Regions from separate parts of the Homo sapiens genome. Here all the other regions are linked to region 1. Evidence: promoter capture Hi-C in 16 types of primary human blood cells and fetal thymus (Javierre and others, 2016). All regions are on one chromosome and are shown on one strand. The core of a region is centred on a gene start or on the middle of the fragment in contact, and the rest is flanking DNA. Distances in the headings are between cores, read along the strand shown.

The links. Contacts are between HindIII fragments. The CHiCAGO score rates a contact against its expected background, and 5 or more counts as called.
Region 2: a fragment that was not itself captured here is called in contact with the fragment with the promoter of KLHL15 in region 1 in 5 of 17 cell types (activated CD4 T cells, total CD8 T cells, naive CD4 T cells and 2 more); the score reaches 9.2 in activated CD4 T cells.
Region 3: a contact is called between a fragment that was not itself captured here and the fragment with the promoter of KLHL15 in region 1, in 17 of 17 cell types (activated CD4 T cells, naive B cells, total B cells and 14 more). The highest score is 34.9, in activated CD4 T cells.

What each region holds. Positions count from the first base shown.
Region 1 is chrX:24,025,750-24,030,198 of GRCh38, forward strand. KLHL15 (kelch like family member 15) reads right to left here and starts at 1,437. Exons shown (of 4, transcript NM_030624.3): 1 at 1,391-1,437. RefSeq lists silencers at 1-28, 39-138 and enhancers at 1-305, 306-809, 2,017-2,516. The HindIII fragment of the contact is 3,234 bases long and covers 1,061-4,294 here.
Region 2 is chrX:23,948,401-23,952,416 of GRCh38, forward strand. No RefSeq gene overlaps it. Among named protein-coding and RNA genes, the nearest start is that of CXorf58, 42 kb to the left of the region's middle. The HindIII fragment of the contact is 8,514 bases long and covers 1-4,016 here.
Region 3 is chrX:23,911,225-23,915,325 of GRCh38, forward strand. CXorf58 (chromosome X open reading frame 58) reads left to right here. Exons shown (of 9, transcript NM_152761.3): 3 at 533-632. Among named protein-coding and RNA genes, the nearest start is that of CXorf58, 5.3 kb to the left of the region's middle. The HindIII fragment of the contact is 3,954 bases long and covers 208-4,101 here.

The DNA of each region.
Region 1 (4,449 bases), core at 187-2,686:
CGCGCCCGCGGCGCCCCGCGTCCCGGCTGCCGGCCCGCCACGCCAGCGGTTTCCCACCGAGGAAAACAGGCGGCCGGGCGTCGCGGCCCTGGACTGGGCCCGACGCAGCTTCCCCCGCGGCGCCGCCGTCGGGGCTGAGGACACTCAGCTGTCCTCGTCCCCTTGCAGCGGTCTCTCTCCGCCTGCACGAGCGATGGGCCCTGAGCCACTGCGGTGCGCCCACCCTCGACAAGTTGAGGGCTAGGAAGCCAGGAAAGTGTCTTTTTGCATCTTGGCCACGGTGGGGGTGGGGGAATCGGGGACAACGTGGAGGGAGCTTTTCCATAGCTACCTGTTATAAAAGTGACTAGATCTGCGCCAAATGACATCATTTTTTGTAAGGCAACTTGCAGTGGACTATTGCGTCACTGTCCACTTGGCTTACTGCACAACAATTACACGTTTCAGAAATCGATTTCCCAAGGGTGGGAAAATTCATAAAAAATTGCATGTCTGCACCACCCGGAGATAATGCCGGATTTAAAAAAGCTGTCTCTACTTGCGTCAAAATAATCAAGAACGAACATTCAGAGGGCAGTGATTTTTGTTGTTCGTTTTTTATAGAATTCTAGCTAGTACTTTTTAAATATTACCTTTTCTTGACAAGAATATAAAACTAGACTATAGGACTGTTTTGTAAATTTATTATGGCATCTCTTTCTGGGAAAAGTGTAGATGACGGAAATACACAGTTGGAAGCCCGTGGATCTACAATTAACCTTAAATTAGGGCATCCATTGCCCATAGCAGATCCTAAACTGAGGTATTTCGGCTTCCCCCACCCCCACCCCCCGCCGCCATTTTCTCTCTAGACCAATATCCCGATGAACTTTCCGTGAGAGGTGTCGCTAAAAGCGATAATTATCTCTTTCTAGCAAACTTGAACATACCATCTTTCCCAAGAGGCCAAAATAGCACACGGTGTACTGTTTTGCTGAAGTAGACTACTTCGTGGGAGAGATAACACAATCACTTCAATCTTTTGGAAATACGCTTCCTTATTCCGATTTAAACTATAACAAGCTTTAAAAAAACTGTAAGACACTGAAATTCCCAAGTTGTTCACACTTTCTTTCCATCTTTTCCAATAGCTCCTTTAAGATATTTCTGTTCATTATTTAAAAATCCCTGCTTGCCATATTTGTATCTATTACTACATGACAAATTACCCCAGAATTTCACATTAAAACAAATTTTTAAAATTAAATCATAAAATAAACTTTAAAAATGCATACATTCCACTTCTGAATATTTAAATGTTCATGCATTATTCCCGAACATCTAAACGCTGAGTTTGGATTTTTGTACATTAACTAACATTTTAAGCTATACATTACTATGTGGCACTGACCTGTCTAAAGAGAGGCTTCTGTTCTTGATTCAAGCAAGAGTTGAAACGTTTCTGCGCTCTTTGTACCAGGTATAAATGTAGTGAGTGTATGTCATAAGCCATTGTGTGATCACCGTGCTTCCCGTCCCTCCTTATTTTGACATTGCAAGGTCTCGTGGAATTTCAAATGTGCTTTTTTGGATATTTATGTAGTTTTAAAACTGGGCTGTGTCTTTCAATCAATCTATACGTTTACTATATGAACCCCTCCCCAAGTTATCTTCAATCAATGATGCCTCTTTCACTCTTATTTCTTATTTTTATGTTATTATTATTATTTTTTTTTTGAGACAGTCTCACTCTCGGCCAGGCTGGAGGGCAGAGGCATGATCTCAGCTCACTGCAGCCTTGACCTCCCGGGCTCAAGCAATCCTTCCACCTCAGCCTCCCGAATAGCTAGGACCACAGACGTGCCCCACCATGCTCGGCTAACTTTTCTTTTCTTGTTTTTGTTTGTTTGTTTGTTTTGTTTTTGTTTGCTTGTTTTTTTCTGAGATGGAGTCTGTCGCTCAGGCTGGGGTGCAGTGGATCTCGGCTGACTGCAACCTCCGCCTCCCGGGTTCAAGCGATTATCCTGCCTCAGCCTCCCGAGTAGCTGGGATTACAGGCGCTCGCCACCGTGCCCAGCTAACTTTTGTATTTTTAGTAGAGACGGGGTTTCACTGTGTTGGCTAGGCTGGTCTCAAACCCCCGACCTCATGATCGCCCGCCTTGGCCTCCCAAAGTGCTGGGATTACAAGCGTGAGCCACTGCACTCCAGCTCAGGCAACAGAGCAAAAACACCGTCTCAAAAAAAAAAAAGAAAAGAAAATATATTTTAACTTTCCCCACCAATTTCTGGACTGTAATGGGAGTTGTTAAATACCTTGAGAGTATCCTTTCACACTGGTAGAGTCCCACAGAGGTAGATGGAAGCTGTCTTTTCTTAGCCCTCTAGCCTAAGTATTTGAGAATACACATTCCTCAATAGCTATTTATTTAGCAGCTAGCGAGGTCGGAAGCATGCTAGAAGCCTGGGCCTGGGAGTGCTGGTGGAGTTGGAATGAGGTTCTTCCCCAGGGGTTCTGAGGATTTAGGATACTGCATACCCTCCTCCTCCCTCCTGTTTTTGCTTTTTAAGAAATTGAGGCCAGGCGTGGTGGCTCACGCCTGTAATTCCAGCACTTTGGGAGGCCGAGGCGGAAGGATCATTAGAGGTCAGGAGTTGGAAACCAGCCTGACGAACATAGTGAAACCCCGTCTCTATTAAAAATACAAAAAATTAGCTGGCATGGTGGTGCGGGCCTGCGGTCCCAGCTACTCAGGAGGCTGAGGTAGGAGTATGGCTTGAGCCCAGGAGGCAGAGGTTGCAGTGAGTCGAGATTGCACCACTGCACTCCAGCCTGGACAACGGAACTAGACGCTGTCTCAAAAAAAAAAAAAAGAAAAGAAAAGTTGAGGCTTTTCAGAAATTCCCAGTCTGTGGTAGTTGTCTTGGTAATCACTTTTCTTTTTACTTTTTTTTTTTTTCTTTTTTTTGAGACAGAGTCTCCCTCTATCATCCAGGCTGGAGTGCAGTGGCGTGATTGGCTCACTGCAACCTCTGCCTCCCAGGTTCAAGTGATTCTCCTGCCTCAGCCTCCCAAGTAGCTGGGACTACAGGCACACACCACCACGCCCAGCTAAATTTTGTAACTTTAGTAGAGATGGGTTTTCCCATGTTGGCCAGGCTGGTCTCGAACTCCTGACCTCTAGTAATCCATCCACCTCAGCCTCCCAAAGTGTTGGGATTACAGGCGTGATCAACCGCACCCAGCCACCCCATGATCTTTCCACTGTACCATGTAATTATATTAACATAGTAAATGATCTTCACATAGTTGTATTTTTATTCCTACTTAATTCCACAAATTGTTGGTTTGCAATCTACTATACTATTTATTTATTCATTCCATAAGTATGTGTAAGTGCCTAGTACATGCCAAGTCTTGTTCTACCCACTGGGGATCCATCAGTGAATAAAACATATGAAAACTCTAGCCCTTGTACGGATTACATGTGTCAGGTAATAAAATAAATAAGCAAATTATGTGGCCTGTTAGAATGTGGTAAATGTGGCCGGGTGCGGTGGCTCACGCCTGTAATCCCAGCACTTTGAGAGGCTGAGGTGGGTGGATTACTTGAGGTCAGGAGTTCGAGACCAGCCTGGCCAACACGGGAAACCCCATCTCTACTAAAAATACGAAGAAATTAGCCAGGCGTGGTGGCACATGCCTGTAATCCCAGCTATTTGGGAGGTTGAAGCAGGAGAAGTGCTTGAACCCGGGAGACTGGGCGAAAGAGGGAGACTCTGCCTCAAAAAAAATATATATTATTTTCATAGAAGTTTTAATGACTTATGAAATTGTTTCTAATATAATCTTATGTGAAAATGCAGGACAAAAAAAAACTATAATTGCACTGATCACAGTAACACTGAACCCTCAGAGGTAGTTTTCTGTTGACTCCTTATTTTCCTGAGTATGGGTCACACTTTGCTGTTTCTTTGTACATCCTGTTTCTTTTAGATAATATGTTGTAGCAACTCTGGACTCTGTATTAACCCACTCCCAATCCAGGTGGTGGTAGAGTTTGCTATTTTTAGATTTGTTGTTTGTGTGGTGGTCAGCCTGGACTAATTCTGTGGCGTCTATTCCCCAAATCGGGATGTGATAAATGCTATGGAAAATAACAGAGCTGGGGAAGGGTGTTCCAGTTTTAACTGGGATGATCAAAGTAGGAGGTATCATTTGAGCCTTGCCTTCAATGAAATTAGGGACCAGAGTGTATAAAACCTGGTAGGCAATTGTAAGGTCTTTGGCCTGTGAGAAATTGGGAACCACTGGAAGCTTTGGTGAAGAGGACCAATATGATTTGACACTCAGGCTGCTATGTAAGTAACAGAATTTAGGTGGACTAGGGCAGAAGCAGGGAGATGGGTTAGGAGACTATTCCGATAATGGAATGGAATGGAATGGAATGGAATGGAGGCTACAGTGGAG
Region 2 (4,016 bases), core at 1,035-3,534, 77 kb before region 1:
AAATGTGTATGTGTGTAGCTGGGTAGGGAATGAGAGAGAATTTAATCCTTACGTCTCATAATGTAAAGTCAGTAAATGATGTCTGTCTTAGTCTGTTTAGGCTGCTATAACAGACTACCATAAACGGGGCAGTTTATAAACAACAGAAACTTCTCACAATTCTGGAGGCTGAGAAGTCCAAAATCAAGGCACTGGCAGATTCAGAGTCTGGTGAGGGCTTGCTTCCTGGCTCATAGGTGGCTGTCTTTTCCCATGACAGAAAAGGGCAAGTGGGGTCTCTTATGAGGGCACTAATCCCATTCATGAGAGTGCTACCCTAGTGACCTAAATCACTTTCCAAAGGCCCCATCTCTACCATCACACTGGAGGTTAGAATTTCAACATATGAATTGGGGTGGGGGTGGGAACACAATCATTCAGTCTATAGCCATGTCCAAAACTGAAAAATCAAGAAGTATCTAATTTTGAGAGATGGAGGTCAATACCAAAAGAATCAGATAAAATATTTGAAACTGTTGCCTCTGAGGATCAGAAAATGGAGAACTATTTGATTTTTAAAACTGCAAGTATGCATTTGATTTTAAAAACTAAATTTAAAAAACACAAGAAAGTCGGGGAATTGTTAGGATGAATACAAGAGCGTGCTAAAGTGGCTCATACTTAGCTTGCTGTTGTTAAATTTTTAACATTCATTGTTAAATTTTCAGGAATTTTGTGAGCTGGTTGGTAAGTATAGCCATTATTAAAAATTAAACTGTAGTCAGGCACAGTGGCTCATGCCTGTAATCCCAGTGCTTTGGGAGGCCGAGACAGGTGGATCACTTGAGCACAGGAGTTTGAGACCAGCCTGGGCAACATGGCAAAACTCCATCTCTACAAAAATTTTTTTTTAAATTAGCTGGGCATGGTGGCACATGCCTGTAGTCCCAGCTGCGTGGGAGGCTGAAGTCGGAGGATCGCTTGAGCCTGGGAGGCAGAGGCTGCAGTAAGCTGAGATCGTGCCACTGCACTCCAGCTTGAGTGACAGAGCCAGACACTGTCTCAAAAAGAAAAAAAAATGAATTGTATAAACTCGTAATTGTATAGTTTACTTAGGTAACCTGTATTAAAATCACAGGTAAAACTTCTCAAAAAGTATCGCTTCTAATTATTTTAATTATTATTTAAGGAGAATCATTCTAATGATTCTACATTTTACATTCTATGATATGAGTTCTTGATTCTATTTTTTTTTTGAGATGGAGTTTCGCTCTTGTTGCCCAGGCTGGAGTGCAATGGTGTGATCTCGCCTCACTGCAACCTCCCCCTCTCGGGTTCAAGCGATTCTCCTGCCTCAGCCTCCTGAAAAGCTAGGACTACAGGCACCCACCACCACGCCCGGCTAATTTTTGTATTTTTAGCAGAGACGGAGTTTCACTATATCGGCCAGGCTGGTCTCGAACTCCTGACCTTGTGATGTGCCTGCCTCGGCCTCCCAAAGTGCTGGAATTACAGGTGTGAGCCACTGTGCCCGGCCGATTCTATTTATATCTATTGTATCTGTATGGTGGAAATGCTGTAGAGTGATGTGCTACTAGACATCTCTTGCCAACTGTTGTGACGTCATGTTGGTAATTTGAAAACATATATATGTATATATTTCTTGTTGTGTATTAAACTTTTAAAAGTATAACACATCTATAGAAAATCATATAAAATGATTTTACAGTTGAATGCATTATTGTAAGGCAAGACACCTTAGTAACTACCATCCACGTCAGAAGAAAGAGTCATACCTGACCACCCCAGAAACCCTCTACCTGGCCCTGCACCTCGTCTCTTAAGAGTAACTATTCTCCTGGCTTTTATGGTAATCACCTCATTCTTTTATAGTTTCCTCACCTAAGCATGCACCCATACACAATGTAGTTTAATTTTGCCTCTTTTTTTATATGGTTTTTATTTCTTTTTAATCTGTAGGTTCCCTATCCACCTCTTTTTTTCTCCCCCATTACAATTTGTTAATTAAACTGGATCATTCATTCTGTAACATTTCCCATGATCTAGACTTTGCTGATTGAATTCCTTGGTGTAGCTAACACGTAACTCTGTCCTCTGTATTTCCTGTAAATTGGATCTAGAGAATCATTCTTTTCTTCTTCTTCCTTTTTTTTTTTTTTTTTTGAGACAAGTTCTCACTCTGTCGCCCAGGCTGGAGTGCAGTGGCATGATCTCGGCTCACTGCAACCTCCACCTCTCAGGCTCAAGCAATCCTCCCACCTCAGCCTCCCGAGTAGCTGGAACTACAGGCTGTGCCACCATGCCCGGCTGATGTTTGTATTTTTCGTAGAGGCAGGGTTTCACCATGTTGCCCAGGCTGGTCTTGAACTCCTGAGCTCAAGCGATCGGGCCACCTCAGCCTCCCAAGGTATTGGGATTATAGGTGTGAGCCACTGTGTCTGGCCTTAAGAGACTAATTCTTTATTATTAAAAACAGTGACAACAACAAAAATACCAATTCAGTAAATATATGTTGAATATCTACTACATGCCTGAATAGGATAAAAATATGAAGTAATTATTAAGGACATTTATCATTTTAGGCAACTTGACAGGATCTTCTCGGGGGACAAATTGTTACGGTTTACTCTATGCCATTAGCTTGGTCATCAACTCAGGAGATAGCTCAAAAAATGTGTGGGTGAAATACATATTAACTGACAAAGAGACTCCTCATAATAGCACAGAAATAGTGTAGCAGTGCCTTTCTGAAGAAATTATTAACTGCATAACCACTTGTATACAAAAGGTTGTCTATTTTTCAAGGCTGGTTTTAACAATGGTGCATTGACCAAGCACCACTGACAATGATTACAAATTTTGTAGGAACAATTTGCAGGAATTCAGCAATCAAGGATTTTTAAAAAGAAGAGGAATAAATTTTACTACATATTTCTAAATTATCAGAACCTTAAGTTTAAAAAGGACACCGAAGGCTGGGTGCAGTGTCTCAAGCCTGTAATCCCAACACTTTGGGAGGCCGAGGCGGACGGATCACCTGAGGTCAGCGGATCGAGACCAGCCTCGCGAACATGGTGAAACCTTGTCTCTACTAAAAATACAAAAAAAAAAAAAAAAAAAAAAATTAGCCAGGCATGGTGGCGGGTGCTTGTAATCCCAGCTGCTTGGGAGGCTGAGGCAGGAAAATTGGTTGAACCCAGGAAGCAGAAGTTGCAGTGAGCCAAGATCGTGCCACAGCACTCCAGCCTGGGTGACAAGAGTGAGACTCTCTCAAAAAAAATAAAAATAAAATAAAATGAAAAGGACACAGAATAATAAGATTCTATAACCTGATACTCTCTATCACTTTTTCCTATGGTGGACCAATAACACAGTCTCCCTAACCAATGCTAATTATTTGTAGAATAATATTGACAACTTGAAGAAATGTTGATTTGCTTGAAAGCAAACATCAAGGCTTCCTTTTCATAAACAGTATTTGGCTAAAGTATTTTAAGTGTGGCTTAAGTTACAATTGTTTTGTAGCTTATTTTCATAATGTACTGGTGAATGTATATACTGTTTATACAATTAATGAAGTTTTAGAAACATGAAAACTTACTTCACCTCTATTAAGTCTTTGTTTGTAAGTAAGGTGAGTTGCTCAGATTTCTGGACCAGGAAGATGTGAAAGAGTGAAGATCGTCCAAAGTCCAAAAATTTTCAACCCTGATCTATAAATTTACAGTATTATATTGGCTATGATTCATAGAAATCACATTAAGTTTAAAATATTCATGCATATTATTTTTTAAAGTTCTCCAAGAGTAAGTCATTTCCTTCTATATTTTTGGAAAAGTGAATATTCATTTCTCCCTGGTAATATTAAATTATGACAATCTTTAGCATTCAAATTAACCTGTCAAATTATATTCTTCAAAATTCTCCAACATTTGCAGAGCTATGAGAAACTTCTAAAAGGGAAAAATATCAAGATATGGTGGTTATGGACCAGAGTGAAAAAAATAAATACCAAA
Region 3 (4,101 bases), core at 935-3,434, 110 kb before region 1:
GATCAAAAGTAGAATAATTCCGACTTGACCTGGATGAGCCTGGTTCAAGCAAAGATCAGAGAAGGAAGTTTCTTTTTCTAGGGCATAGTCATCCACCCCCAGAAGAGAACTGGGCCTCCTGTAACTTTGACTATTCCCCATTCCATTTTCATAGCACTTGAACTAGTTGGACGTTTCATTTTAGGTCGTGAATGTTTTTGGGAAGTAAGCTTGTCTCCTCATACTTTTTATTTATAATATACATGCCTCTTAATGATATATTTATATTTTATATGCCTTTTGATGACAAAGTTTTGGCCAGGACTTTTTTTTTTAATCTCAAGGGAAATCTCCTCAAGTATTTCATATCCTCATTCTGAGTAGATTCTGCAAATGACCACTTCCAATTACCACATCCAAATGTTCCTCATTAGGTCAGTCTTAGAGTGGGGGATGGGGAGGTACAGGAGGAGGAAGCATAAATTGATAGTTCTCTAAGGTTTTAGGAAAATGAAAACTACTTTATAAATATTAACCTCTTTTTTTCTCTCAGAATGCTTAAAGACATTTCAGCTCAAATAATACAGAGGGCTTGGTTATCTCATACAAACAAAATGATATTTCGACTCCTAAAACACGCAATTTGTGCAGCGGTATGTATTTTGCTTATTTTTTTCTCTGAGGGATTTAATTATCAAGCTAAAAGATCTATTAATTAAAGATCGAATAGATAACCTTCTTTATCTCCTCTTTTTTTTTTTTTTTTGAGAGGGAGTCTGGCTCTTTCACCCAGGCTGGAGTGCAGTGGCACAATCTTGGCTCACTGCAACCTCTGCCTCCCAGGTTCAAGCGATTCTTCTGCTTCAGCCTCCCAAGTAGCTGGGACTACAGGCACCTGTCACCATGCCTGGCTAATGTTTTGTATTTTTAGTAGCGATGGGGTTTCACCATGTTAGCCAGGATGATCTCGATCTCCTGACCTCGTGATCTGCCTGCCTTGGCCTCCCAAAGTGCTGGGATTACAGGCGTGAGCCACCACGCCCGGCCCTTTCTTTATCTCTTCTATTTGGATCTAATAATATCACGTGGAGTTCTGGAATTGTTTCTTCTGTTAGCCCTAGATGAGTATTTCTGGATTTTTTAAAATGTGGATGACTATTACTTTTTTCTGAAATTAATATACTGCTTGCCTTGTTTTGTTTTTAAATTTGATTCCTTATTTGAAAATGTGAGACAGTTCTCTTCCAACAATAAAAAGCTCCGAATCTGCAAGGTGCAGCATCTCACGCCTGTAATCCCAGCACTTTGGGAGGCCAAGGCAGGGAGGGCCAGGAGTTCGAGACCAGTTTGGCCAACATTGAGAAACCCTGTCTCTACTAAAATACAAAAAAATAGCCAGGCGTGGTGGCATGAGCCTGTAGTCACAGCTACTTGGGAGGCTGAGGCAGGAGAATTGCTTGAACCCAGGAGGTGGAGGTTATGGTGAGCGGAGATTGCGCCACTACATTCCAGCCTGGGCGACAGTGAGACTCTGTCCCCCTTCAAAAAGCTCTGAATTAAAAGTTCCCTTACCTTTTATCCAGCAATTTTACTTCTAAGAATCTGTTCTACAATACATACACAATTTGATTGCACCGTTGTTTGTAACAGCAAAGGGAGTAAACTGTATAATATCTATTGATATGATGCTGGTTAAATAAGTGTTGCTGCTTTTATAGTGTTAAACTTTGCAGCTTTAACATGATTCTGCAATAGAAAGGAAATGAAGATAGCTCATCAGTTAAAAAAGCAAGCACCAGACAGTATGAAGAGCATGATCCTACTTGAGTGAAAACCAAAACCAAAAAAAAAAGGTGCATATCCCCCCTCCTCCAGAAAGCAACTCTGGCAACCCTAGCAGAGCCTTCCTTGGCATAGTACCAAATATTCTAATAAAACAACCTATAAATCCAGTAGTCTATTATTAGTGATACTCTTTTTTTTCTTTTCTTTTTTGAGATGAAGTCTCACTCTGTTGCCCAGGCTGGAGTGCAGTGGCATGATCTTGGCTCACTGCAACCTCCACCACCCAGGTTCAAGTGATTATCCTGCCTCCGCCTCCCTAGTAGCTGGGACTACAGGTGCGTGCCGCCATGCCCAGCTAATTTTTTTTTTTTTGTACTTTTAGTAGAGACAGGGTTTCACCATGTTAGCCAGGCTGGTCTCAAACTCCTGACCTCAGGTGATCCACCCTCCTTGGCCTCCCAAAGTGCTGGGATTACAGGCGTGAGCCACCACACCCGGCCAATTAGTGATACTCTTAAGGGAATTTTAGCAGCTCTGAAAAAAATAATAAAGTCTGAGCAATGTATACACCGTTCACCATCTGACCCACAGACCTATTTCTGATGTCAGTAAAAGCAGAATACGGCTGGGCACAGTGGCTCACACCTGTAATCCCAGCGTGAGCTGGGATCTTTAGGAGGCCGAGGCGGGTGGATTGCCTGAGGTCAGGAGTTCGAGACCAGTCCGGTCAACATGGTGAAACCCCGTCTCTACTAAAAATACAAAAAAATTAGCCGGGCATGGTGGTGTGCGCCTGTAATCCCAGCTACCTTGAACCGGGGAGGTGGAGGTTATAGTGAGCCGAGTTTGAGCCACTGCACTCCAGCCTGGGCGACAGAGCAAGACTCCGTCTGAATACTTCAGAGAAAACCCACCCAGGTAAACTCCTGGCATTTCAGGTCTATTATCCATTGTCTTTGAATATGGAACTTGTATTTAATTTTATAATGCTGGTTTCATAGTATTTTTAGACTTTTGTAACAGAAGGAAATTCTTTTTTATCTGTTATAGTAATACTTTAATACCTTAAATTAATAATGCTTTGTCCTTTTAAAAGCTATTTATTTATTTATTTTGAGACAGAGTCTTGCTCTGTCACCCAGGCTGGAGTGCAGTGGCACGATCTCGGCTCACTGCAACCTCTGCCTCCCGGGTTCAAGCGATTCTCCTGCTTCAGCCTCCCAAATAGCTTGGACTACAGGCGCCTGCCATCACGCCTGGCTAATTTTTGTATTTTTAGTAGAGATGGGGTTTCACCATGTTGACCAGGTTGGTCTCGAACTCTTGACCTCAGGTGATCCTCCCGCTTTGGCCTCCCAAAGTGCCAGGATTATAGGCGTGAGCCGCAGTGCCCAGCCTAAAAGCTCTTTAGTGTACATTTTTATGTGATTATCATAGGCATAACGGGGTTGGTTGGGGTTGTTTGGGGGAAAGAGTTGGGACTTTAGAGTCAAACAGAACTAAATGAATCCTGGCTTCCCCATTCACTACCTGTATGCCTTTTTATAAATTACAAAAATTCCCTGAGCCTCAGCCTTCTCATCTGTAAAATAGGCGTGATAATATTCTCATAATGGGCCAGGTGCAGTGGCTCACGCCTGTAATCCCAGCACTTTGGGAGGCTGAGGCGGGTGGATCACCTGAAGTCGGGAGCTCGAGACCAGCCTGACCAACATGAAGAAACCCCATCTCTATTAAAAATACAAAATTAGCCAGGCATGGTGGCGCATGCCTGTAATTCCAGCTACTCAGGAGGCTGAGCAGGAGAATCACTTGAACCTGGGAGGTGGAGGTTGCGGTGAGCCGAGATCATGCCATTGCACTGCAGCCTGAGTGGTGGCTCACACCTGTAATCCCAGCACTTTGGGAGGCTGAGGCGTGCGGCTCACAAGGTCAGGAGTTCCAGGCCAGCCTGGCCAATATGGTGAAACCCCGTCTCTACTGAAAAAATACAAAATTAGCCGGGCGTGGTGGCAGGTGCCTGTAGTCCCAGCTACTCGGGAGGCTGAGGCAGGAGAATCGCTTGAACCTGGGAGGCGGAGGTTGCAGTGAGCCGAGATCATGCCACCGCACTCGAGCCTGGGCGACGGAGCGAGACTCTGTCTCAAAACAAACAAAAAATTCTCATAGTGTTGCTGATGTAAGGATTAAATGAGCTAATGTATATAAGGCACCTAACATAGTAGTATATGGTACATAAAAGGTGCTTAAAAGCTAGTAACTTATTACTATTATCATCCTCATCTTACAGTGATTCATTCAACAAATACTTCTTAAGCATCTGCTGTGTTCCAGGCA